Regions from separate parts of the Homo sapiens genome. Here all the other regions are linked to region 1. The links are contacts of gene promoters, found by promoter capture Hi-C in blood cells and fetal thymus (Javierre and others, 2016). All regions are on one chromosome and are shown on one strand. The core of a region is centred on a gene start or on the middle of the fragment in contact, and the rest is flanking DNA. Distances in the headings are between cores, read along the strand shown. Region 1 holds the start of SETBP1-DT (SETBP1 divergent transcript). Region 2 overlaps SETBP1 (SET binding protein 1). Region 3 overlaps SETBP1 (SET binding protein 1). Region 4 overlaps LINC01478 (long intergenic non-protein coding RNA 1478). Region 5 overlaps SETBP1 (SET binding protein 1). Region 6 overlaps SETBP1 (SET binding protein 1). Region 7 overlaps SETBP1 (SET binding protein 1).

Region 1 (3,027 bases), core at 212-2,711:
GTTCCTATGAAAAACTTGACGAAGAAGTTCTGTGAAGGAACTCAAACCAGCAGCCAATGCAGGGAGGCAGCCACTGATGGCCTCAGTGAGGGAATGCCCCCGACGTACCTCCAAATCATTCCTCAGTCCAAATAGCCTAAAACTCTCATGAAGAACGTGATAGGAGTCCTCTCAGAATCCGAGTCCTCGGTCAACTTTACCCCAAGTTCTTTGAGCGGAACCATTTGCAGACCTTCCCGAATCCGTATCTATCCTATATTGTTTTACAATGTAGACATGTCTCTGAAGGGTTCCATTCGTGTTTCCCTGAAAAGACCCCCTTTGTAGGCCAAATACAAAAACTCAGAGATTACAAATGCCACCATATTTTGTAAGAACTGAAGACATTCCACTTTGTTCTTCCCACCCTGAAAACAACTGCATGCCAGTCTGCGTTTGTCATCTCTCCGTGTCCTTCCCTTCATCAAGTGTCCAATTCTCTTGAATAACGAGAAAATGCACATGAGATCTGAATGCATACAAGTCGCTTAACAACAACAATAAAATAATAATAATAATTTAAAAAAACCCTGAAAGTGAAATATAATTACCAGGTTAAAAAAAAAATGCGCCCAGTTTCGAGAGCCTATCACAGCTCACGTCTGGGCGCGCAGTACCCCCCCGACACTGCTCCTGTTGTGTCAGATAGTGGCAGTGTTGAGCCCAGGAATACGCGCGGAGCCCGCGGCGATCCCCGCGGCCGCTCAGTCTTCGCGGCGGACTCCGGCGCGCAGGAGCCACTGGGCCGCAAGGGCGCCGGGGAGCGGGAGGGGCGCTGGGGGCGGCAAGGGGTCCCAGATCCCAGGCCACGAACTGTTTTCCTTTTCCCCGGGCAAGAGCCCCGCTCCCTTCAACTGACAGAAATTCACTGGGGCAGGGGGGCGAGTGGGGAGAGAGGTCGCTCAGGGCTCGCTACTGGCTGCGCCTCCCCCGGCTCTGGTCTGGGAAGCGGCTCTGGGCCCTCCGGGCGAGCAGCTTGGGCGCCGGCGCCCCCTGCGAGGAAGATCGCGGGGTGACGGTCGGTACCCGTTCGGCTGGGCCGCGCTGCCGCTCCGATCCACCTCCCTTCCGCGCCCGCGCCCTCCCCCTTCCTTTCACTAGGAGTCCGGGATTCGGAGAGGGCGCGGGAGGCAGGCACACGGGCCCGACCCCACTCCAGCGCTCACCGGGGACGCGGGCGGGCGGCGACGGGACGCGGCGGGGGCGCGGGGCGGGCGCGGCCATGGAGCAGCAGCGGCGGCGGCGGCGGCGGCGGCGGCAACACTAGCGACCGCGGGCGGACGAGCGGGCGGGCAGGGCCGCCGGGCTCAGCGGACCGAACTGCACAGCTCAGCAAAAGCGCCCTCGCCCTCCGCGCGCCGCCTCCTGCGAGCCCAAACCCACCAACATTTTTTAACGCTCCAACCCATCCTTTGAAGAAAAGCAAAAAAAAAAAAAAAAAAAAAAAAAAAAGCAAAAAAAGAAAAAGCATTGATCGGAGAGACGGGGATATATATATATATATATATATATATATATATATAAAATTTTTTTTGGCTCCTGCTAAAATTAGCAGGGCTCGCCGCGCGCCTGTGTGCCAGTGTGTGCGAGTGTGTGTGCGTGCGGGCGTGTGTGTGTGAATGTGATTACTCCAGGACTCCTCGGGCTCCGGAGACGCCATTTTCCCCCTTGATATCTCTCTCCATAAATCGGTGGCGCGGCGGAGGCGGCAGAGTCGGGCGGGAAGCGCGGGGCCGGCCGGGGCGCCCGCCGCTCGCCGCCGCCTCCGCGCGCCCGGGGGCCCCGGCGCCCCCCGAGCTAGGGCGGCCAGCTCGCGGCTCGCCGTTTGACAGATGCTCATCGCCATGGAGTTGCCGCAGCAGCACCTTTGGGGGCTCGGGCGAGCGACGGGAGCCGGGATCTGAGCGAGCGCCGGGGCCAGCGGAGCCGGAGCCGCCGGGACATGGGTGAGCACGCGCGGCGACCTTGGCCCGGGAGCCCGGGCGCCCAGCCTCCCTCCGCGCCGCGGGCCCCCGCACTCCCGGAACCGGGGGCGACGTGTGTGCCCTGCATGCAAAAGTTCACGTCGCCTTGCTGGGTCTTTGACTTTGCACCCGGCGGGAAGGGGGAGACCGGGCCGAGGGGGCGGGATGCCGGTCCGGGCGAGGTTGCAGGAGATGGGCGCGATTCCGGCGGGCCGGCGGGTGGGCGGCGATGCTGGCTCAATTGGAGTGGCTCGTTGGTGGCGGCGATGGTGGAAGCTTTGGGCTGGAGGGCTGGGAGCTTATTGAGTTTCGCCTAATCTGATCTACCCCCCCTCCGCCCCCCGCCTTTTGCACCCTCCCTCGGTCCTGCAGCCGGCTGGCGGGGCTGGCGGGTTTGGCGTTGGTGGAGTGGACTCGGGAGGGGGAGGGGGTAAGGAAAGGGGTGGGAAGGCAGGATTTTTTTTTTCTCTCTTTGTAACTTGCAGGTTAAGTGGAGCTAGAGAGCTACATTGTAACCTAGTTGGATTTTTTTGGGGGGGGAATGTATCAGAATCTAACGTGTCGTTAATAGAAAGAAGAACAGGCAAGAAGTGGTCCAGCCGGCGAAGGTTGGTGTGTGCTTGTGTTGTGCCTGTGTGTTAGTCTTTTTCTTAAAAATCTTAATCAATGGATTTGAGTCTCTTTCTTGTGCTCTCTGGTTTTGGGACTCTGAAAAGATAGGAATTCCCTTAAAAGCAGACGAATGCCTTTTTGAAAGCACGCATTGTGTGCGTTTCTAGAGGAGCCGTGGGCTTGGGAATGAACGGCAGGCTTCCCCGTTCGGTGGTTTCCAGTGGGAAATCACTCCGGAAAGGGAACCCTTCGGTATCGATTTATTGTTTTTGTCTTCCAAACCATTATCTCTTTGACCGAAATACTGTCTGAGAAGTTCCGCAGGGACAAAGTCAGGTAAACTGGACCGGGCAGATCTTTGGCAAGATGGTGATAACGGGGATGCTGTTTTCAGTGTCTGTTTGTGATGGAA
Region 2 (3,027 bases), core at 384-2,883, 380 kb after region 1:
CTTCACGGGGAACATCTCCTCTTATCCTTCAAAAAATATTTAGGTGAAATAAAGCCCCAAGAGGGTGAAAATTAGAGCACTGTCCAGCCCTAAGATTTTAGGATGTTTTATTGCCACTTATTTATAATTTTTTTAACATTGTGTTATCAAAAATGTCAGACATATACCAAAGTAGACAGAATAGCATTAATAAACCTCATGTACCCATCAATATCAACTTCAGCTTCAACAATATCAACTTACAGTCAATCTTGTTTCATCAATACTTCCACTTACCTCCTCCCTTCCTTAGTATTTTAAAGTGAATCCCAGATGATAGTATGTGATTTCATCTATTAATATTTTAGTATGCATTTCTAAAAGATAGGTACTCAAAAAGCATAATCACAATGCAAATATCACACCTACGGAAATTAATAGTAGTTACATAATATCATGAAATGCCCATTGTTCAAATTTCCATTTATTTCATGATCTCTTTTAACAGTTTGTTCCAATTGTCATCCAAATAAGGTCCTTTATCTCTTTAGTCTCTTTTGATGCACAGTTTCATCTTCTCCCTGCCCTGCGATTTATTTGTGGAAGACACCAGGTTGTTTGTCTAGAGTCTCCCACAGTCCACAATTTACTGAATGAATCCCTGTGTGTCTTCTGTCCTCTGTAGTTCAAGGTAGTTAGTTCTAGATCTGTGCTGCCCCATAGGGTAGCCACTAGCCACACTGTAGCTATTTAAATGAAAATTAGGTGATATTAAAATTCAGTTTCTCAGTCACACCAGCCACATTTTAAGTGCTCAGTAGCCACAAGTGGCTAGTGGCTCTATGGGGCAGCACACACATAGAGAACATTTTCGCCATCTTAGAAAACTCTGTTGGACAGCCCTACTCTAGTGGCTTAATAAAACTCTATGAGGTTGCCTTGGGGGGAAGTAGATGTTGAGTAGTAGGTGAGTCATCCACCAAATCTTTGACTCACAGTTGATCTCCTACACAGCAGTCACTTTAAACCTCCACAACTGGACTCTGAAGATAAAATAAAAGTTCAAGATGTACGTGTGTTTTTAAAGTTATGTAAGTAGTATACTTAAACATGTTTTTGTGATTTCCTTTTCTACCCAACTCTTTAAATGAGATTTAACCATGTTGATATATTTATGTGTAGTTTATTCATTTTAATGGATGTATAATATTGCATTATTTTATGTAACACAGTTGATTAATTAGATTGTTCTCAGTTTTCTGTATCATACACTGAGCTTCAAGGAACATCCTTATATGACTTTTGCCTCCTGATATATATGAGTAAAGCAGGCAAGCTTGACCTGAAATTGCTGGGACACTGAATGTGTACATCTTCAACTCTAACAGTTATTGCCCAATCACTCTCCAAAATGATTATAACAATTTACACTCCCACCAACAGTATGTGAGTGTTCCTAGTTTCTTACATCATTACCAATACTAGGTAGATTCAGATTTTTAATTTTTACCAACATGAGCTCATATATATGCAACAAAAGGATTAAAACAAGCATAGAAAAAAGGGAAAGGAATGGAGAAGGGAGCCATGACTTAGCTCCATCTGTAATGTTTTCTTATTAAAAAAAAAATGACAAAAAGTTAACATTTGCTAAATGTGAATGGTGGGCACAAAAGAGTTGGTTATGTCATTTTTTAGGATTGTTTGGTAGATTTACACTATCAGAATTAATTTTTATTTCATAATCCTTTTTTAATGCAAAGACTTAATAAATTATTCAGCACATGTTTTTGAATATGGAATTATCTGCTATCTGCTAGGTTTCTGTTTATTTATTTTGGTTTGGAGATTTTGTTTTTGGGGTTTGTTTACTTATTTATTTTGGCATTTCATTTTAAAAAGACAACACATAGAGTGACAATCCATTGGTTATATTTTCCCCAAATGACCTGCAGCTCATGGAGTATTTCCATCAAGCTTAACTCGGTCAAATACAGTATTGCCAACTAATTGATTTACTTTATACTTCTATATTACATGTCAGCAAGGTGATTTACTTTATTCTTTCATGCTATTTTATATAATATATCACATAGCATTTGCTTCCTCTATGACTGATATAAACTAAAGAGAGGGCAAACTGTAAATGAAAGCTTTGCTTGGAATACTGTCAAGTTTTGTGGAGTATTACTACTGACTAGTTGCCATTGATTCCTGAACTATGTGGACAAGGTAAATTATCTGTCACTGACATGAAGGTGGGCTAAGTTTTAGTATCACTATATTTGCAATGATCACTTTAAAAATCCAAACTAGAACTCTTCTAGGGAATACGACTACAAGGCCTGATTAGACTGATTTGTCAGTCCAGAAACAATTCTTAAATCTCTTTTATATACAAGGCACCCTGCTAGGCCCTTTGAGGGACATAAAGACAGACAGGCATTGGTTCTTGCCTCTGATAACTTACAACCAGGCAACCTTTTTCTTTTACAAAACTAACTACAAAAATTTTATTTTTGTAGTCAGAAGCTCACTCTGGCTTTGTTCTATTTTGATCTTTATAACTTATTTTAAAGATCATTCAGTAGTTATTCATTGCTCGGTCAGTCTCACTGACCTTTGGCCAAAAGCTGTAACATTTTGACCTGGCCTGTGGGACTCAGCTCTTTCCACTCCATGAAGCTGGGGGTGTAAATAACTTCAAATAAAACCCTCCTGGCAATCTGTGCTGGGCACAGCATGAGAGAGAAATGGGACAAAGCAGAGGAAAGAATCAAGTGGGAGTACCCACAATAAGTGAGAATGGTATCCATGTTTTAAGCGTCTTTTTTCCTCCTCTCTCTTAAGATATTTATTCTGCTTCTCTATTAGTAGGTACAAAAGTAATAATGGGAGGAAACAACAAACCAAAATGATAAAATGCAACACACTTCCCTCTATGCGTAGGTCTTCCACATGGGCTCCTTTCGGGTTGAACATGCAGCGTAAATCATAGCGGCAAAGAACTCAGTGAAGACACACTTCTTATGTTTATAAACAGCCAGG
Region 3 (3,027 bases), core at 156-2,655, 360 kb after region 1:
TAAAAAGCTTCCCACAAACCTGGGAGAGCTAGAAACACACAGGCTGGGCTTGTGGCCAATGCTCTGTTTTACATGTGAAGAAACTGAGGCCTCTTGAGATTCAGAGATTTGCCTGAGGTTATACAGTTGGATTGGAACCCAAATTTCCTGATTTACTGCCTGATTTCCAGTGGATTCCCACTTCTGTCATAGTCCCAACATGAGCAAAGGCAGATTTTTTTTCTCCATAAATATGGACTTCTACTTCTTTTGGAGAACAGTGAATGAAACTCATAATTTGATGGGGTAGATAGATAGCTTTAGCCAAAGCCAAGCACAAAGTAGGTAGTTAACAGTTTCTGGATTTGATCTTATTTAATTAGGTGCTTGAAATATAGTAACATATATAGTACTGTAATATGTATTTCTGATGAAACAACTCACTTGATTTTTGTTTTCTTTAGAGTGCCTTTCTTCATCTTTCACTATAAGCAAGGTAGAATTACGTCTGGCTTTAGGCAGGGATCAGCTTATTTTCTAATAGGTTACCATTCCTACAGAATGGTTTTGGAAACCCAGACAATTGCAGGGAGAAAAAAAAAGGACAGAAGAGTTAAACTAGGTGGCTTATAAAACAAATTTAAGCAATCGTGTATTGAGATAAGAAGGTACTGAAGTAATTCAATTAATTAGAAATTTTATTTAGAAATAATGGATGCAGGCCAGGCATGGTGGCTCACACCTGTCATCCCAGCATTTTGAGAGGCCAGGGTGGGTGGATCACCTGAGGTCAGGAGTACAAAACCAGCCTGGCCAACATGGTGAAACCTCTACTAAAAATACAAAAATTAACCAGGTGTGGTGGCATGCTCCTGTAATCCCAGCTACTCAGGAGTCTTAGGCAGGAGAATTGCTTGAACCCGGGAGGCGGAGGATGCAGTGAGCCGAGATTGCACCACTGCACTCCAGCCTGGGTGACAAAGCGAAACTCTATCTCAAAAAAAAATAAAAAATTTTAAAAAAAAGAGTGGATGCAAAAATACCTAGTACAGTTCCTGACACATAGTACATGCTCAGTAAATAATCACTGAGTGAAACAAATGTTTGAGAGGCAGTAGCTGTATGCTTTTACAGCATTAAATATGGTGAGAGACATCTGAGAAAAACATACTCAATCTTGAAACTGCTTTTTTTTTTTTTTTTTTTTTGAAATGGAGTCTTGCTCTGTCACTGAGGCTGGAATGCAGTGGTGCAATCTTGGCTCACTGCAACCTCCACCTCCCAGATTCAAGCGATTCTCCTGCCTCAGCCTACCAAGTGGCTGGGATTACAGGCACATGCCACCATGCCCAACTAATTTTTGTATTTTTAGTAGAGGCGGGGTTTCACCGTGTTGGCCAGGCTGGTCTCGAACTCCTGACCTCAGGTGATCCGCCCACTTCGGCCTCCCAAAGTGCTAGGATTACAGGCATAATGACAATTAAATGGAAATCATTTGACAGGCACTTTGTAGGCCGCTGGAAAATACTTGCCAAATAATTTATCAACCTGTAGTAAGAACAGCACTTTTTTCAAATAGGTGATCTTTGGTAAAAGTACAACAAAGGAACATTCCCACCTTATTTTATAAACGATACAATATGGGAGAAATGAATATGAGTCAGGGGTTTACAAATATGTGTTTTCTAGCTTGTATGCATATATGCATGTGTTATATGGGTCCCCCAATTTTTTTGTTTCAGGCAATTTTTTTACCTTCTCAGAGTCTCAGAGGCATAATGATTATGACATTATTGATTTGTAAAAGGGGGCCATCGAGGAGATGCAGGAGAGAGTGGCGAGCTGGGAACATGTCAGTTTGTGAGCTACTGGGAGGGAGGATGACAGTGGCTGCCGGAGGTGCTCAAACAGATCAGCCTCAGTGGTCAAACTGCTCAATAGCTATTGATCAGCTGCAGTCCCCTGGTGCAGCCAAGGAGGTCTGATTCAAGGGAGCATTGCATCATTATTGTGAGTAATTAGGGCTAATGCAGTAAAAGCGCCACTAAAGTTTGCTCAAAGTGAGGCATAATTTGAAACAACTTCTATTACACTAGCCCAATCATGATTTAATAATCATATCAGATAATCCATACCTGAATAAGCCAGGCTGATTTTTCTGATTTTCTAGATGTTGAACTAACTTCTCAGGGAGATCACGTAATGTATAGAGAAACTGTGATTTCATTTCAGAAACATGTTTTTTCCCCTTATATTTAAGATGAGTCTGTATGAATAAGTAGATTCCAAATGGTGGTAAGAACTCAGAAAAACATCAAGGCAACAAAATCTGTATGGTTTTGCACTTGAAAGACTAGACTAGCAATAATGGGAAGACAAGTATATCCTTTCTCTCTCTCTCTCTCTCACACACTCACACACTCACACACACACACACAAACACATACACACCAACATTCTCTCATCTTAAGTCCAAGGAGAAAAAAAAAAAAGCAAACATGTATCAGCCATGCTATCATTGGATCTCAACTGCTCGAGGTGTAGCTCAGTTTGAGATAACAAGGAAGTAGAGTGAGCACAGCTCTTAGCTTCTATCTGTTGTATCAAGGCTAATCCATTATTATTTCAAACTATATTATCTACCATGTTTAAAACTACCAGAGCCCATGAATAAGTAAAAATATTTAAATTTCATAAGTCTGTTAAATTTTTAGGCATTTTGCTTCTCATGGCAGGGACTAATGTTAGGGAAATCATTTTGTTATTAGCCCAGCCATCAGTCGAATCAGAACTAACTGTTACCTGTAGTCAAGATGCAAAACCTTAAGCTTGAAAAATTAATTACCATTACAAATAATAGTGGGAATTCTTAATACTATGAAATCAGAATGAAATTCAGCATACTAGTAGCTAGAACAAAATGATGTGAAAATTGCTTTCAGCTCCCAAATTCTATGATACTTGAGTTTTCTCTTAGCCAGCTGCCATCTGTGGGAAGGGGCCCAGAATAAGGAAGTAATATCCAGCTACAAAAAAGAGCAATGAACA
Region 4 (3,027 bases), core at 228-2,727, 350 kb before region 1:
GCAAGGGCTGGTCCAGATTTGAAAATGATATCTTGGACTTAGTTGAGGTTATCTGCAGTCATTTTCACTATGTTTCATTCAGCAAGTAATGCAAATGATATCGTCTCAATCCAGGATATTGCTGGGCCAGTGGATGGCTGCCAGTGCTATCCTTCCGCTTGTAGAGGAAAGCCCAATGTTTCAAGACCTCTTCAACCTGCAGTGAGGAAGGAATGCACCAGTTCAGAGCAAAAGGTGGGCTCATTTCCATCCATACAGTTTTAGGATAGGGCAAAGGGCAGAGAATAGGCACCTCAGCCTAGATCATCTATATCTGACATCCAGGTTCTGGATTCATAACTTCTTGTTAAGCCAGTTTACCTCACCTAGTATTTTTTCTTTTTTGAAAATCAGGAATCAAAGTTTCAGTGTGTCAGATTTGGTCCTGGCTTTCTACAATGTACTCCTAGGCTGAAGTCATAAGAAGGGATCATCTCTAATTTTTATCCAATTTCTAACAATTCCAAGTTCATAAGAAGGGATCATGTTTTATTCTCAACCAATTTCTAACAATTCCAAGTGATATATATACGGGCATTGTCTCTTCAAAATGATATTAGCATATTCATTTCTGTATTCTAAAATATTAAAATGTAAAAATAACACATATATAACAGGTGACATTATGAATGTTAATGCTAACCCTCCCACTGCCAAAAATCTACCTTTAAAACTAACATCATACAGGAACATTCTGTTTTATATATATTCCCTCAGCCGAATCTTGTGCAGACAGTGCTTCAGTTGCAAGCAGATCCTGAAACAATTGTGAATCTGGATGCATTTCATGCTTTACCCCTAAGTTTACTTGTATTTGTGCTGCCCCCTGTAGGCGAGTTTTCAAGCACTGACAGTTGGTTAAACTCACTAAAAACCTCACTGTTAAGGATCTCAAGCAACTTGTGGGGATTATCATTACAAATCTCAGGTTGAAAATTGATCAATAACATTACCACTTGGAACCATAGCACTTACAGTATGACCATGTGATTCTTCCACCTCAGCCTGACAATATCATATTCTCCAGAGAAATAAGAGGCTGCCAAAGATTTCACCTTCTGCAATTTTGTCATAGCAATCTTCTCCTGTCTCTGTTTCCTATTTTGTGTTTTGTGGTTTCTCTGAAATTCCCCCTTACTCCACATCTTTCGACTCCTGATTTCTTATCATTGTTGTGACAACAGCTTGCATTTGTATAATGTCTCTTTCTTCTGCAAAACAGAAAACACAGAAATTATGTGTAAATCTCCAAGAATTCTTGCAACATCATCCATCTGATATGGGGGCAATGAAGAAAAAAAAAAAACAGAAAAACTGAAATTATTTGCTCAAGATGGTGCCATAAGAAGCATTCGCTCCCAGAGCCCAAAAGATGTGTGGTGAATAGGAGGCAAACCCTTGCACAGGGGCTCAGGGGGCCAGGTTCCTATATTGCCCCATTAACTATTTAATCTCTCAGAGCTAATTTCCCTTAAGTAAAAAAAGACAAATTCTCATCTGCCCACCATATACCAATATGGATAAAGGTAATAACTATGTAGAAAAAAGGTTTGCAAACCTTTGAGTGATATAAATATGAGCTATTACTGTTTGTAAATATTGCACCCAAGAATTAAAGATGATTTAAGTTTTTCCATGTTGTATGTAAAATCTAAGAGCATCTGCAACAGTTGTCCTTCAGAGAAAGGCAAAAAAAAAAAAAAGCCGTCGTCTTTTTCACATGTATCCATTTCGTTAAATAATTAATTCAAATCATACATATTCCTTTATACACCAATCCAGTTACGCTTTCAAAAAACTTTGATCACTTCTATCAATTTGTCCTCGTGATATATTTCCTTTGGAAATTTACAAACACACAATGCACAATGTATTTTTCTCTCAGCAGTTTGTTCTGAAAGGCTACTCAAGATTTTAACCATTTTATCTCTTTTATTTATAAGTGTGTCCCGTTACCATATACAGTCACATGTTGCTTAATGATAGCATACATTCTGAGAAATGCATTTTTACAGAATTTTATTATTTCACAAACATCATGGAGGATATTTACAGAAACCTAGAGGGTGTGGTCTATTGCTCCTAAGCTACAAACCTATACAGCATGTTACTGTACTAAATATTGTAGGTAATTATAACACAATGATAAATATTTGTGTAACTAAACAGGAAAGGTAGGACAAAGATATGGTCAAAACAATGTTTAAATGGCACAACTGGATAGGACACTTACCATAAATGGAGCTTGCAGGACTGGACGTTGATCTGGATGAGTCAATGAGGGAGAGGTGAGTGAATGTGAAGCCCTGGATATTATTGGAGACTAATATAGACTTTATAAACACTGTACATCGAGGCTACACTAAATTTATTTTTAAAATAAAGTAATTATGCTATGATGTCACTAGGCAATAGAACTTTTTCAGCTCTATTACAATCTTATAGGGCCACTGTTGTCATCTATGAGGTCTATCATTTAACAAAACATTGTTTTGTGGTGCATGACCATATTATCAAAAAGCCAAGTTAATAAAAGACAAAAATACAAAGATCTGCACATGTTGAGTAGAATAAACAAGGGGACACATTGTATGGCATTTTCTTGACTGCTCTGGCTAGGAGGGGCTTGCAGAGATGCCAACCAATTTCTTCCTTTTACAGGAGTCTGTAGAAACGGAATTATTGGGAATGTGAAGATGGTACAAAAATCTTGGGATTTTTCTAATCGAAGCATGTGTAGCTCTATTCAGAAATGTTCTACTTTGTACTTTGATATTTTCTCCCTCCCTAATCACACCCACACAAATGAAGCCTATCATCATAGGCTTGATTGAACCTGCATCATATATTTTTGAGAAAATATTTTGGAAATGGTGACAATTTCATACAATCACCTAGATGTTTGTATCTATAGAAATCTGAAGCACTGTCTGAAGGAAAAACAAAGATAACCAGATGACTTCCTTGTTTATTATCATGTAATCAGCT
Region 5 (3,027 bases), core at 177-2,676, 340 kb after region 1:
GATGTCCTTCAAGCACATTTTTGGCTTGACAAAAGGGCTGCCCTCAGATAACTTTGATGATTTTAAAAATGGTACTTTTAAAAACAAACACATTCCACATATTACATAACCAAGGCTGGAAAAAATAATGTTTTACTGTCAGGTTTGTTAGTTGGGAAATGTAATAATTTCCAGGTTTGGGGAATACAGTCGGGGAATTTCTTTTTACTTGACAAATAAAAATTATATATATTTATCCTGTACAACATGTTGTTTTGAAACATGTATATATTGTGGAATGGCTAAATCGAGCTAATTAACATACATTGACTCATGTATTTATCGTTTTTTGTGAGTAATTTTTTTAAATCTCTTTAAAAGTCTGGCATTTGCCTCATTGGCAATTCTTGACTATTTCATTTGCTCTCTGAATCCTGGTTTCAGCTTCCTTTCTTCTCTTTGGGAAGCTTAATTCTCAGGTTCCTGTCAAACCTGACAGTTATTTTTTAGCTCTGAGTACATGGATGTTTTCCATAGTTGTGGCCTAATTGCACATTCAGTCAGAATTGGTATTTTTTTTTCAACAGGTTCTGCAACTTCTTAATCCCACATTAGGCCATTACCTGTTTGAACCCAGGGCTAACTAAACAGAATTAAGAAACAAGCCATTTGTTGACAAGAATTTTTTTTTATACCTTTACCTAAAGGACATGCATAAAAAACACCTCTCATTCTCTCTGCCGGTTTTTGGAGTCCACACACTAAATTGTCAATTGTATTTCCAGTGGCCATGGGAAAGGAAAGCTGCTTAAGAAAAAGCACCTACCATAGAGACTTGGGTTCAAATTCCTTGTAACATTTAGTTGTGAGACCTTTGAATGCTTCTGAACATTTCAGCCTCATTTTCCTTATATATAAAATATGGTTGGTATTATCTACCTCCCAGGGTTGTGGCAGGTTGAGATTTAAAGTTACTCATATAATCGTTTGGTCTTCAGCCGTGGACAGTTAGTTGGTCCTGAAATAACCAAAGGGACTTTGTTAAAAAGTGGCTTCTCCTCGATCCCTTGAACCTGGGAGGTGGAGGTTGCAGTGAGCCGAGATCACACCACTACACTCTAGCCTGGTGACAGAGCAAGACTCTGTCTTAAAAAAAAAAAAAAAAAAAAAAAAAAAAAAAAAAAAAGTGGCTTCTCCTCGAAGGCAACACTAGGGCATGTCCTTCTGAGTCACTTTTACTATGAGGCACCCACACTTACATCATAGAAACACCCAGACAAGCCTGGACCTAACTGGGTTCTCCAGGCCTTTCCATGCCCAAAACCCATTACACTTTATTTGGTTTATCTAAAGAAAAAATGAGATCTTTGTTATCTTCTAAAAAATAGGAATGTTTCCCACATTTGGCTCTCAGATCTTCCCTTAAGGTGGCCAGGTGAATTTCCTACAGTTTAGGAGCAGAGGAAATTCTTCTATCTACCCAAAATGCAGAATCAGAAGGAATTAGAGGCCATAAAGAAACTCAGGACAAAAAGCAGTAACATGCTCAAACTCATAGAGCTAAAGATAAGTGAGTCTGGAAATCCCATGTCCTGAATCTCTGTCCTCTCACCATGCAATTTTTTTTGATGACCATAAACCATGCACTGAACACCTGAAGTCACCTCTGTATGGAGATGCTCCTGTCCAGCATGGTCTGTAAATGAATCACTAGGTGTGCAAAACTTTCCAGACATCAGTGCAATGTGCTTTGTTCTCTATTGCATATCCATCTGCAAATGTGGGGTGTTTGTGTATTGAACTAATCTCAATGTTCAATACTCTTCTTTCTATAGCGGTCAGAAATTCAATATGTGTGGTTTGTCTTTAGTTAGAATGATAATCATCACTGCCCTTTCTTGGTTATTATACCAATTCTTTTCATCTTTATCTTGTTTTGCAATGACATTGTTACTAAGGTCTGGCAGACATCCTTCTTCAATATAGTTGCTCAGCAGACATCTGTTGAACAAATAAATAGGTAATATGAATAAATACATGAATATCACAACACATATCAATTCAGTGGTATCTATAACTTACTGGACTGACTTCAGTTTGCAAATTAAACAAGGCATGAAATTTGAAATTAGTAAAACAATTTAGTTTTGGGTCTGTATGCCAGCTATCATCTATTTTGACTATTTTTAATCAGTTATTAGGATGCCACGGTTTAAATCTATAATGCATGTGCTTGTTTAGGAACTGACATTAATCCCCCAGCCTGGTCTAATGGCCTCCCCAACTCGCTCTCCTGGTTAAACTGCCTGTATGGTTTCTATCTGCATATCTGTCCTCTTAGACCACCAATGAAATGTTCACCCTCTGTCATTATTATTCAGTTGTTTCTCTTCTCTTCCCAAACCTCCCATTTTCTTTCGTGTGTTCAAAGCTTTTTCATAATTGGAGAATGAGCATTATAGGAAATTTGGTGCTGGGAATGAAGTCCTTTAAAACTATGTCAAATATACAACTCATAAAGAGAAGAAGAAAAATTGAAAACCCCAGAGCAAATATATAAAAATTCACATTTGCAGAATACATACACTAGAGAGGGAGGGTCTTATTTTCTTGAAAACATAACTCTCTCTAAGCCCTCCTCTCCAGCTTTCTCTAAACATGAGCTGTCCTAATGAATCAAATAAGATTTGATTTGCAAAAATAATCATTTGAGCATGGGTTTAGGTGTCTTCTGAGCAAAAAACATAACTTATTCCTTAGTGTTTCCCTCATAGTGCCTAGAAAGAAACTTCTAATGTAGAATTTGTCCAATAAATGTTGAGGAAGAGAAAAGGAAACCAAGGGAAGGCAAGTCGGAATTATGTACAGTAGGGCACACGAGTTAACTATGCCCTACTGTTAACTGAACAAAAGTTCAGTTTCTACCCTTGATTCGAAAGTGTCTTAAAATTGCTTGGCCACCTTCTCAAAACCTACTAGGAGCAGATTTTGTCCCAAGTTGGACACATAGAGAACAAACCACCTCTTTTCCATGGCTGAGTGTTTATG
Region 6 (3,027 bases), core at 144-2,643, 320 kb after region 1:
AACAAAGCCTTCTCCCCCACAGTTCAGTTCCCTGGCTCCCTGCCCTGCCACCCATCCCTCTCCACCTTCTAGCTATGCTGATGAAAACAGGCCAAAACAGAGCATTTCAAAAATTCACCCTAGAACCCCAGCTTTCAGATCTGCGATCTGAAAAGGGCAAAGAGTGGAAGATGGTGGAGGGCAAGGGTTGAGAAGAACCATTTTTTTTTTTTTTTTGTCAAGAGGAACAGATTCCATTCTTGAATCCTTTGCCGTGTTATAAACAAGGCTGAGCACACAGCATTCCTCCTAAAGCACATGGTCCTGTTTTTACAACACAGGCCTGGTCCCTGCTGGAATTCAGTGTTTGCCTCAATACTGTTCGTCCTATTCATTTGGGATTTATTTTAATTTGGTGGTATTAATGGTGGCCAGGAATGGAACAGTTCTTTCATTCTTCTTCTGTTTTCCTTCTTATCTCCCTCCACACCCTCGATCTTTTATATTTATATTTTTAAGCATGTAAATGTTTCCAAGGGCAATGCCGAATTCTAAGCACTGCCTGTTATTGCCTTTGGTGGGTGCCTTCGCCCTCAAACCTGTAGCTTCCACTTTTGCTGGCATTTTGCAGTTCCTTCTCCAAGGTGCTCAAACTTCAGCAACTCTCTCATCTGAAGAGACATTATTGAGATTGTTTTCTTTATATAGAAAGGTGTTCGTTTGTTTTACCCTTTCAGGCTAGTTTTAAGGGCTCAGTTGAAAATGTAATCTGAGAAGGGACAGTGTAGACTTGGCTAAAAATGGAAACAGTGGGTCTTCTTAACTACTCACCACCTCTTTGAGGATTGATAGTTAAGAACTTGGGTTGTTGGGGTGGAGGTGGGAGCTGAGCACCTTGGTATATGTGAGAAACTAGTAATTAGATTGATCCATTTAAGAAATACACTGATATGTGCCAAACTCAACAAATAGGTCTTTTTCTCAAAAGGATACATCACATTCCACAAAGCTGCCATCGCTCAAAATACTTTGGAATATTTCTGAAATTATCTCCAGAGATTTTGGTATATTTTCTTTTAAAATTATTCATCAGAGAAAACCCTCATCCTCTGAGAAAACAAAAATATGCAAACTTTCAAAAATCACTTGTGCACAATTCTAGGGAATCTGTGTATTTTTTAGTTCCTCATCCATGAGCATACAGGACCCTGGGCTTTATTGATTGGCTCACAATCTGGTTCTATTGGTTTCAAACTCCAAGTGACATTTAAACAATGGCAATATCGTTGCAATAAGTAGTTTGCTTTTCATGATTACCCTCTTCCATTACAAGTAATGTATGTATGTGAGTTCAAGCCTACTGAGTGGGCCTTTGTCCTATTCAAGGAGCATGATTAGACAGCAGTCTATGCCACCCAACACCATCATGAACCAGCTACATGGGCAATATTTACTCTAGGCATGGCCTCGAGGACAGGAGGCACTTCCCACTGTAAACATGTGAACGAGCGAGTAGCCTGCCCATATCTCCATAGCCAAACCATCCTCATATGAGTCCAATAAAAGACTTCACTTCTCTTTCCACATTAGATGCTGGAAGAATAGTAATGTCATGGGAAAAAAAAAAAAAAAACAGCAGTAATCTGAAAGTCTTTTTTTCTTTTCCTAAATCTTCACAAGGTCTAGTTGCATAGGCACCCAAATGTCTGTTGACCTTCGTAATCTAAATGTGGTGACTCTCTTTTAAATTCCAGGAAGGGTGACATTTCTTATCACTGTGCTTTATGACTTAGGTGTGGGTAGTCCTTTCGTAAGATAGTATCCCACTACGCCAGTGATTCTTGCCTGGGTTTATTTAGCCCCCCACCAGGAGACTTTTGGCAATGTCTGGAGATACATTTATTACAGCTAAGTGGGGGCTTCTGCTGGCATCTGGTGAGTAGAAGCCAGGGATGCTGCTGAATACCCTACAAGGCGTGGAACAGCCTTTACCCTACCCTGTAACAAGGAATTATCTCATCTAAATGTCAGGCGTGCTGAAGTGGAGAAATCCTGCACCAGAATAAATCTCACCTGATGAACACCAAGGTAGCATATGGCATAGGTGTGAACATAGCCCCGGCAAAATATATGCACTTCTGCCTTCTTTGAGCATGACTTAGTATGGGGACCAATTATTGTGGTTTTCTTCCATTCATGCCATAAAAACGGAATACTCCAGGTAGATGTTGTCCTTGGCATCCCAAATTCATCTTTTTTACACCGATGGTTGGCGTGATGATTGGCCTCATTGTACCTTGGGTGTGATGCATCCTTTCACATGCACTGTGTAGAAGAAACAGCATCTCTACTGTCCAAGTTTATGTAAACTTCACTTTCTATTGTGTAACCAGCTGCCTGTTACAGAATCAAAGAATATCAGAGTAGAAGAGTCTCTTCTGTTTATCTTACCTGTGAGGAAACAAGAATTATAAGAATGTGGGTAACTCTTCAGGTAAATGAAAAAGAAACAGGGTTAGGACCAGGTGTCCTGAGATCTAACCTGGTGCCCACCTGACAGCCTTTCCACCACTCCTCCATCTTTTAGGCAGAGAGTGTGGCAGCCCCAGGCCCAGTGTTTCTGGCTCATAACATATCTATTTACAGGCCTAGGCAGTGAATCACAGGCTTCACTCATGGGTGAGAGCTTATTTCCCTCGGCTGCTGGACCATGCAGAGTCTCTGAACGGCAAAGCTCAATCCCTGACATTTCTGCCAAGATTAGAGAATGGTTTGCTTTCTTCACTTCACTCCCAATGTCATTTTTTAAAACATCATTAATTGACATTGGGAGTGATCCTGATAAGCTTCTCCATCATCATGGTCAGGGAACATACCAGAAATATAGCTGGTGTGGGACAAAGGAATTTCATGGGATGTGATTGTTATTTTAAAAGTAAATAGTAGAAGAAGCCAAGTGATCTGCAGAGTCCTATAAGGGCTTTGGCGCAGCATCTCAGTGAAGGAATGAAACTAATATTATGACAAGAGAGATGCCAACCATCATCA
Region 7 (3,027 bases), core at 387-2,886, 300 kb after region 1:
GAAGCTGGGCCCAGGGATAAGTTGTCTGCCCGTGCAGGGGGAAACCATAACATTTTACATGATATCTTGTAGTGATATTAATCACAAAGCCCAAATAAACTGAAGCCCAAATGAGTGAGCAATAGGAATCTAATCCTGATAGTATTATACTACCTGGTATTAACTTATACTCACCTGCTTTATCTGCCATGATTCTTATGATATCTGCCTCTGCCCAAGGTGGACTGGGTTAAATGTGATTAGCTCCATTTAACAGATTTAACAGATGAGAAGACAATATTTCAAATGAGGGCTCTTACTGAATGTCAAAATGGAAGCTTGCATTACTGTCATTCTTAACAAAGTCAGCAACACCAACCATAGTGAGTCTTTTATAGATGGACATAGAGATGTATGTTTCCCAAGCCCTGTTCTGTTTCCTGCACTGCAGACATGGGGTGGCTGCCCATGATGGCCTGCAGTGAGTTGGAGCTATTGGCTCAGTTTTAAAAGCTACAGGACGTGATGCCATTTTACATTGAAAAAAAATATTTAATGATCCCGGATGTCTTAAAGATTGTGCAGACACAATTATCCCAATTTTAAGATGAGGATATTGAGCCTCAAGAATTGAATAAATTGTCTAAAATCATGTGTCTCACAAGGGGCTGACCCAGAATTCGAACTCAAATCTGGCTGACTTCAGAGTTGGTGCTTTTTCTCCTCTACCAAGCTGCTGATTTAAACAACTCACTTATTTTACAGAGGTTGAGTAGGAGACCTCTGAGAGCCCAGGGAGGCTTTTCCTCTCCTGTCTGGTGACTGCTACCACAACACCATGAGAGGACTTCTACGGGCTTTTTGGCCATTAGGGGCCCAACCCACCGAATCTGCATTTGCTTCCCTTTGCAATCTGAGAGGTCAACTCCAGTATGTTTAAAAGTTTTGTGCTTTAAAACTGTATTCCTGGAAGCAGTCTGTTTTAACTTTGCCCCTAAGCCTTTCATATTTGCCTGGCCCTTTGTTCTAGGATAATTTCAAAGGAGCTGCCTTACTGTAATGAAATTCAGTGTACTACTGGCTGTATCCATATAACATTTCGTTCAGTTCGATGCTCAATCCACAATCTTGAAATAAAATAGTAGTCAATGAAATTTTCTGTATAGTATTATCCTCCATAAGTTCAAAGATAATTTAGTAAAGCTTGGCTCATGAAAGTGATCACAAAGCTGTATGATTCTACTGGGATACAGGGGTAATGTATTTGTGTGTTGAATGAATCTGAAATTTTGAGTCATTGATTGAGCTGGTCATTTTGATTTAAGAATTTGAGAAGAAAGTATTCCAGAACTAAGTGCTAACCAATGGTCCACACTGATATAAAAATCACAAATAACTCTTACATATGGAGGCTCTCAGAGAAACGAAATATGGTCAAGGCTCAAGAAAACTCACTCTATGCAATTGAATATTCCTTATTTTTTCTTAACACCATCTATTGCACATATTGGCTCACAGAGCAGAAACATGTGACTGTCTTGGTTCTTCATTCATGTTCCTCATTTAATACATTTACAAAAAGCAGTTCCTTCTTAATAACTAAGTTCATGTGTTTGAAAACCCATGTGGATGTAAATTTGGAGGTATGGAAATTTTGGAGTCAACTCAGCAAATGTTGATCCAGTGTCACTGTGTGCCCAGACTGTCTGAATGTCGTGGTTAGAGCAGTGACCACGAGAAGTGATGCTTTGTTCTCTATTCTTGTTTCTGTGGAACCGGACAATAAGCAAAGCCAGGAGCCTATAATATGATCTCAGATATTGATAAGTACTGAGTATAGAATGAAGCAGATTGAGAAGATGTAGAGTGATTGGGTGAGCTGGGAATATTTTGATAGTGGTGTCAGGACATGTATTTTATAAATTGATTGCTGAAATAAGACTAGAAATAGCTAGTTTGCACAGTAAACTGTTTTTAGGGCTCAGCATTATTTGATTACAACTTGCGTCTTGTCACAAACCATGGTTTAGTAGGGTTGGAAATGAGGAAATTTTACTACAATATGTATTATAAGAGCCAATTTCATAGATCGTAGAATCTCAAAGTTAGAGGAAAGCTTAGAGGTCATCCAGCCCCAAGTAGTTTCTCTGATTCGCACATTCTTCTGCTTTAAAAAAAAAAAAAATCTAGTCTCTAGAAACTCATTACTTTATAATACAACCAAGTTCAGTTCTGAATAGCCCCGACCTCCCGTGCCTCTCCCGTCTCTTACAAACGGAAACTTTGTCAGAGGAGGGAGAGGCAGGGAGGTTGAGGAGCCTTGAAAGGCTTTTTCCTTTTTCTCAAGCACTGGGGCTGCTCACCTTCACTGAAGGCACAGAAGGTGCAGGCCTCCAGCAGGAAGACAAGAGCCCATCCCTGCTGCCAGTTTCAGAAACAGTTTCCACAGCTCTAGGTTAAGGTTATGGTCATGTGTAGCAGGGTAAGAGGTTGCAAAGCATGGTCCTAGGGAAGCAGTAGGAGCCCAGGTTTGAAAGCAAGAAATATGGGTCTTCTAGACCTAGCTCTCATGGACAGGCTGTTGGTTTTGGCCTTCGCAGATCAGTACTTCTGCCTGGGCCTCAGTTTATGCATCTGTAAAAAGAAAGAATTGCATTAAATCAGTGGTTCCCAAAGTTAAAGTGGTCCCCAGACCAATAGCATCTGCCTCATTTGAGAACTTGTTTGAAATGCAAATTCTCAGGCCTTATCTCAGACCTATTAAATGAGAACCTCTGAAGCAGGAGAACAATAATCTATTAAAAACCGATGCACCCTTAAGTTTGAGAAACATAATTCTGCGTGATCTTCAAGGCCCTCAATTCCAGCCGTAACATCCTGTGAATCCCTGAGGCAGAGGCCCAAAACTGCAGCCAGCTCACTTGCCCCGACTCTCACCGTAATCTCTCAGGTTCCAGCAGTTTCTTTCTGTCTCTCCTTGGATCCCTGAGCCAAGCTACAGAGCCAGTTGGCTTCAGGAGGTGACTCTAACTCCCAGAACATGTACCT

What was found. The method cuts DNA at HindIII sites, captures the fragments that hold promoters and counts their contacts. A CHiCAGO score of 5 or more calls a contact.
Region 2: a contact is called between a fragment that was not itself captured here and the fragment with the promoter of SETBP1-DT in region 1, in 1 of 17 cell types (total B cells). The highest score is 6.2, in total B cells.
Region 3: a contact is called between a fragment that was not itself captured here and the fragment with the promoter of SETBP1-DT in region 1, in 2 of 17 cell types (naive B cells and total B cells). The highest score is 7.5, in naive B cells.
Region 4: a contact is called between a fragment that was not itself captured here and the fragment with the promoter of SETBP1-DT in region 1, in 1 of 17 cell types (M2 macrophages). The highest score is 7.1, in M2 macrophages.
Region 5: a fragment that was not itself captured here is called in contact with the fragment with the promoter of SETBP1-DT in region 1 in 2 of 17 cell types (total B cells and naive B cells); the score reaches 9.1 in total B cells.
Region 6: a fragment that was not itself captured here is called in contact with the fragment with the promoter of SETBP1-DT in region 1 in 2 of 17 cell types (naive B cells and total B cells); the score reaches 5.5 in naive B cells.
Region 7: a fragment that was not itself captured here is called in contact with the fragment with the promoter of SETBP1-DT in region 1 in 3 of 17 cell types (naive B cells, total B cells and activated CD4 T cells); the score reaches 7.3 in naive B cells.

The regions. Positions count from the first base shown.
Region 1 is chr18:44,678,411-44,681,437 of GRCh38, forward strand. SETBP1-DT (SETBP1 divergent transcript) reads right to left here and starts at 1,462. Exons shown (of 2, transcript NR_187430.2): 1 at 1,206-1,462; 2 at 1-479. It overlaps SETBP1 (SET binding protein 1), which reads left to right and starts at 2,478. Exons shown (of 6, transcript NM_015559.3): 1 at 2,478-2,611. RefSeq lists silencers at 603-1,242, 1,913-2,162, 2,303-2,352. The HindIII fragment of the contact is 7,071 bases long and covers 1-2,277 here.
Region 2 is chr18:45,058,939-45,061,965 of GRCh38, forward strand. The region is part of intron 5 of SETBP1 (SET binding protein 1); the gene reads left to right. Among named protein-coding and RNA genes, the nearest start is that of MIR4319, 90 kb to the left of the region's middle. The HindIII fragment of the contact is 641 bases long and covers 1,314-1,954 here.
Region 3 is chr18:45,040,981-45,044,007 of GRCh38, forward strand. All of the region lies in intron 5 of SETBP1 (SET binding protein 1), which reads left to right. Among named protein-coding and RNA genes, the nearest start is that of MIR4319, 72 kb to the left of the region's middle. The HindIII fragment of the contact is 2,800 bases long and covers 6-2,805 here.
Region 4 is chr18:44,325,233-44,328,259 of GRCh38, forward strand. It overlaps LINC01478 (long intergenic non-protein coding RNA 1478), which reads right to left. Exons shown (of 5, transcript NR_110792.1): 3 at 1,015-1,250; 4 at 1-196. Among named protein-coding and RNA genes, the nearest start is that of LINC01478, 200 kb to the right of the region's middle. The HindIII fragment of the contact is 3,567 bases long and covers 1-3,027 here.
Region 5 is chr18:45,019,131-45,022,157 of GRCh38, forward strand. The region is part of intron 4 of SETBP1 (SET binding protein 1); the gene reads left to right. Among named protein-coding and RNA genes, the nearest start is that of MIR4319, 50 kb to the left of the region's middle. The HindIII fragment of the contact is 1,964 bases long and covers 445-2,408 here.
Region 6 is chr18:45,002,092-45,005,118 of GRCh38, forward strand. All of the region lies in intron 4 of SETBP1 (SET binding protein 1), which reads left to right. Among named protein-coding and RNA genes, the nearest start is that of MIR4319, 33 kb to the left of the region's middle. The HindIII fragment of the contact is 2,859 bases long and covers 1-2,823 here.
Region 7 is chr18:44,978,335-44,981,361 of GRCh38, forward strand. The region is part of intron 4 of SETBP1 (SET binding protein 1); the gene reads left to right. Among named protein-coding and RNA genes, the nearest start is that of MIR4319, 9.7 kb to the left of the region's middle. The HindIII fragment of the contact is 913 bases long and covers 1,181-2,093 here.